2 separate regions of the Homo sapiens genome follow, and region 2 is linked to region 1. The links are contacts of gene promoters, found by promoter capture Hi-C in human tissues and cell types (Jung and others, 2019). All regions are on one chromosome and are shown on one strand. Each heading gives the region's core, a stretch centred on a gene start or on the middle of the fragment in contact. The rest is flanking DNA. Distances are from core to core; before and after follow the strand shown. Region 1 holds the start of PDRG1 (p53 and DNA damage regulated 1). Region 2 overlaps TPX2 (TPX2 microtubule nucleation factor).

The links. Contacts are between HindIII fragments. The study calls those that stand out against the background at their distance.
Region 2: a contact is called between a fragment that was not itself captured here and the fragment with the promoter of PDRG1 in region 1, in 1 of the 25 tissues and cell types used here (small bowel).

Annotation. Positions count from the first base shown.
Region 1 is chr20:31,950,747-31,953,402 of GRCh38, reverse strand. It overlaps PDRG1 (p53 and DNA damage regulated 1), which reads left to right and starts at 1,357. Exons shown (of 5, transcript NM_030815.3): 1 at 1,357-1,528. The coding sequence starts at 1,442. The HindIII fragment of the contact is 6,454 bases long and covers 1-2,656 here.
Region 2 is chr20:31,757,697-31,760,352 of GRCh38, reverse strand. TPX2 (TPX2 microtubule nucleation factor) reads right to left here. Exons shown (of 18, transcript NM_012112.5): 4 at 174-296. Among named protein-coding and RNA genes, the nearest start is that of TPX2, 20 kb to the right of the region's middle. The HindIII fragment of the contact is 7,137 bases long and covers 1-2,656 here.

The sequences.
Region 1 (2,656 bases), core at 108-2,607:
GAGGTCAAAAGGAGAGAATAAAACGCTGGAATCAGGGAGGCGAGACATCAGAGTGATAATATCGGTTCTGCTCTTTAGACTTTCAAAGTCCTTTCCCAGCGCCTTTTACAGCCATGTGGGCTCAATGCCTCCTTCCCTCTGACCTCCTGCCTGCTTCCCCCCCGCCCATTCTGTTCCACATACGCTGGCTGTTCCCTCTGCCTGGAACACTCTTCTCCTAGGCATCCACATGGCTCACCCCTCACCTTCTTTTCAAAGCCTTGCCTCTCTCTGAGGTTTGTTTTTTCCAGCTATCCAATGAGGAGTTTGGGCGTGAAGACCTCGTGGGAACCCTCTGGTTCTGATGGTAACCATTTTCCACCTGCCTGCCTTCTCTGGGAAGTCCTCCCAATCCTACCACCCACACCCACCTGCTTTTCTGAGCTAGCACTTCATTGCTTACTGCCCATAGTTTTCAAGTCCCTTCCTTATGTATAGGCCAGCTACTCTGGACATTGGGCCCAACACAGGGGCTCAAGTGAACTCTGGTTAAACGGAATTAAAAGTGATTACTGCTTCCTTTGTTTTTTGAGACAGAGTCTCGTTTTGTCACCCGGGCTGGAGTGCAGTGGTGCCATCATAGCTCAGGGCAGCCTCGACTCCCCAGATGCAGGTGCTCCTCCCGCCTCAGCCTCCTGAGTAGCTGGGACCAACGGGCGCGCCCCCCCTCACCCAGCTAATTTTTTTTTTTTGTATTTTTAGTAGAAACGGAGGTTTTACTGTGTTGCCCAAGCTGGTCTCGAACTCCTGGGCTCAAGTGATCCCCCCGCTTTGGCCTTCCAAAGTACTGGGATTACAGGCATGAGCCACTGCGCCCAGCTGATTCCTGCTTCCTTCCGATCCTGTGGAGAGACACTGAGGCGGATTTTTATTCACCCCCTTTTTATAAATTAGAAACTGAAAGTGTCAGAGATTAAACATAAGTCACACTGCCACATGGGCCTTCTTGGTGTTTCTTAGCCAGGGGAAGAATAATATTTCCCAGATCCTAATCACTACCTGCCACGGTATATAATTGTTTTGCCATTAATTGTCGGTGTTTCCCACTAGGATGAAGTTCCATGAGGGCAGGGATTTTGTTGTGTTCACTGCTGCATCCTAAGCACATAAAACTGCTTGGCACATAATAAGTGCTCAAGAAGCATGAACCGAGGGAGTAACGGGTCAGAGGCAGCCCGAGGACTGAGCTCTCTGAGCCTGCAGAGGGCGCTCCAGCCCCGCCCCCAAAGCTAGGCCCCGCCTCTCGCAGCCGGCTGGCGCACTAGTGTTAGAGCCTGCGCACCACCGTTCTTTTAACTGCGCAGGCGCGCCGGAAGCACCTAGAGAGCGGCGCGTGCGCAGCGGGAGTCGAAGCGGAGATCCCGGGGTCGCGCGAGAGCCGCAAGCGGAGTTGGTGGGCGCTATGCTATCACCCGAGGCAGAGCGAGTGCTGCGGTACCTTGTAGAAGTGGAGGAGCTCGCCGAGGAGGTGCTGGCGGACAAGCGGCAGGTGAGAGGCCCCTCCGCGGCGCTGGGGCCTGGCGGCCGGCGCCGTGGGAAAGCGCGCGGGGTCGCAGTGAGTTGACCTGGACAGGCGGTTAACGGCTCCGAGGCGACAGACCTGGGCCGATAAATATTCGGCCGCTACTAAGTGAGCGCCTGCGCTATGCTGGACATTCCTCTCTCTTCATCCTTTCTCTGCCCCTTGCCATGCTCTGTGGATCTCGACCCATCATGCTCTGGGCCGTTTCCCTGAGCACCTGTTTCAAAATGCACTTCCCGGCCCCATGGTTGATCTAGGGGCACCGCCCTGTAAAGGCCCTCAGGGGAGAGCTGGAACCGAAAAGAAGCCTGAGGGGGCCTTGTGACCGGGCAGGGGTGGGGACGTGGGGGAAGGTGGCGCCCTGTTTATGGGGTGTCTTGTTTTAAGTGCCAAGTTTTTGAGGGGAGTTCCTGGGGGAAGGAGGGTGACGTAATTGGATTTAGGTTTTAAAAGGATCCCCCCTGGCTGCTGTGTGGAATACAGAATATAGGTGGGCAAGGGCGGAGGCAGGGAGATGGGTGAGGGGCCATTGGTATGGTCCAGACCAGAGATGGATTTGGACTAGGTAGTGGTGGTGGAGAGAAGTGAAGGGGTCAGAAATGTATTTTGGAGACAGACTCAGTAGGCCGTGGTAGTGGAGCCGGGGGAGTCGTGACTCCCTCTCATCTCCAGTTAGAAGGGTCAGGTATTTACTGAGAAGGGGAAAACTTGGGCAAGATCCTGTCAAATTAAGTACTGGATCAGGGTGTGCTGGATGAGAATAAGAGCAGTTAAAGTTTATCAGCTACTTACTATGTGCCAGGTACTGTGTTAAGTCATTTAATTGCTGGCTCAATAACCTGTAAGGTAGGTACTGTCCGTAGCTCCATTTTGAGGAGGAGTAAATAGGAAGGTGAAATTACACAGCTTGAGGCAGATAGCAGGATTCGAACCTGGGTATTCCAAATCCAGAACCAGCACTCGTGCAGTATACTGTACTACTGCGTCACTTCCTTAGTAGCTATTGTGTTGTTACCACTGTCTCAGTGCCCCCAATCCTGCTGTTCCAATCTAGTATTGTTGGGTTTCTCATATTACTAGTTCAGAATCAGCTGG
Region 2 (2,656 bases), core at 103-2,602, 190 kb after region 1:
TTTTTTAAGTGTAGCACATCATTAGTTTTACATTTATCATGAAATGAATTAGCCCATTTCACCAATAATAAACAAAGAGATAGAGCATTTAGGTAATTTTCCCAGAACCTCAGGCTTCTAAAACACTGTCCCACCATTCTATCAAGGAGCTTTTTTCTAAGATGTTTTCTTACCTGGTTTCAAAGGTGTGACAATAGCTTGCTGAAGATTAGCCTTTCTCAAAGGAGTTTTGCCCTGAAAAAGCCCTCCAGTTCCATTCTTCCCCAGTAACTTATTCTCCAAATTGGCCTTCTCCTCTGTGAAAAGGGAAGATCATCATTGTCTGATCAGCAAGGAAGCAAAACAAATCACTATCACGCATTTAAAATGCAAACTAAAGCTCCCTACCAGTACACTTCCAACTCATGTGGCAAGTACAAGCAAAGTTCTAGCAATCAAAAGAAAAAGTACACATTACACATCCGAGATAGACTATAAGAACAATCACTAAAAACTGGCAACATTGAACAATGTATTATAAAAAAGGAAAAGTACAGATTCTGCATTGTGAATAACTCCTTATCTTTGTTTGGTACACATTTAGGGTCATACAAATATGAACTGGCTTTATCTACTCCCTAAATATATCATGTTCCTCTTAAAGAAAACTGTAACCAGCCGGGAGCGATGGCTCACACCTGTAATCCCAGCACTTTGGGAGGCCGAGGCGGGTGGGTCATGAGGTCAGGAGATCGAGACTGTCTTGGCCAACATGGTGAAACCCCGTCTCTACTAAAATACAAAAAATTAGCCAGGCGTGGTGGCACATGCCTTTAATCCCAGCTACTTGAGAAGCTGAGGCAGGGGAATCGCTTGAACCTGGAAGGTGGAATTTGCAGTAAGCTGAGACCGCACCACTGCACTACAGCCTGGCGACAGAGCAAGACTCCATCTCAAAAAAAAAAAAAAAAAAAAAACGAAAGAAAACTGTAACCATCAAAAACTGTAGGGCTTACAAGAGATACTGTATAGTCTTACAGAGTTTCCTCCTCAGTGGGGTGGTGGGAGGAATAAGGGGTGTGTGAGGGTAGAGCAGAGCTAGGTTCTCTCAAGAAATTTTATCTTAGATTCTACTGTGCCCAGAAGTCAGTACAAAGCAGTGAAGGGTCTGTTCTACCAACAGCCTACTGATAGTTTCAGGAATGCAGTGAGACACAGCAATAACTACCCTGTGCATGTACATTCTGATTGCAACTGTGTAGAAAGATGTGACTATTTATTTGGGAAAGAAATTGGAAAGTAATATATTAAAACTGAGGTAGTTTTGTTAGCCAAAAGAACTCTGGCAAAAACAAAAAGAAAAAAAAATAAAAATGTTTTAAAACTAAGGTAGTTTTGGAAAAATAGTGGGGTCATTTTTTTTCTTCCAAATTGTATTTAACAGTATTCTTAGGCTAATCTTTTCTTTTCTTTTTTATTTTAAAGAAAAGCTTAGAAAAAGAAATCCTCAGACAGCCCAGCCATTTCCTTACAGTTCCAGTGAAGCAAGGGCATGGGGAAGATCCCCGCAGGACAGCTGGCCCTTGTATTTATTTACCCTTCCTCCCACACCACTTCCAACAGACGACTCCTCTCAGGATCCCCACTAGATGCCATTAAAGTCCTTTTCCAAAAAATGGCACCTGTCAACACATTTGGACAGTGCACTATACGGATAAGTACAGCTGCAATGGACTCACTTCTGTTCCCCACCACATATTCATAGTGATTTCTCCCGATAAGGAGGATGGAGACATGAGAGAAAGAATCAAAGGGGCCTCAACAACTAGTCTCAGATATTATTTCAAAGTAATGTAAAAATGTAACCACATTCTTACTTACCATTGGCCAAGCAATACTGTTTCTGGGAATGGGTTCTTAGTAGCATAATCCTTCCATTTAAAAATGAATTGAGGGCCAGGCGCAGTGGCTCACGCCTGTAATCCCAGCACTTTGGGAGGCTGAGGTGGGTGGATCACCTGAGGTCAGGGGTTCAAGACTAGCCTGGCCAACATGGCAAAACACTGTCTCTACTAAAAATACAAAAATTAGTTAGGCATGCTGGTGGGCGCCTGTAATCCCAGCTACTTGGGCGGCTGAGGCAGAACCGCTTGAACAAGAGTGGCGGAGGTTACAGTGAGCTGAGATTGTACCACTGCACTCCAGCCTGGGCAACAGAGCGAGACTACAGCCTCAAAAAAAAAAAAAAAAAAAATGAATTGAGGGAGGGGTGGCAGGAGGGAGGTGAGGGTAATTATAAAAGATCTTGACTGTGATGGTAGACACATAAACCAACACAGGTGATAAAACCACAGAGAACTTAATACACATACAAGTAAAACTGGAGAAATCTGAGTAAAACTGGTAGATTGTATGAATGTCAATATCCTAGCTGTGATATAATCTATCCCTAATGATAGTAGACAAAGTTTTTATGTGGCTGCCATCACTACAGACATATTTGAGCATGGAGTTTTGTTGAACACTGGTTCATCTGAACTTTCCCATAGGTCCCTAAAGCTTAAATCTGCCATTCTGAACTACAAAACAACATATGCTTTGTACTTACAATCCATTCCCCAAATACTGGGCATTTCAATTATTCCCATAATATCATGGATGACAGAATGTCTTGGTG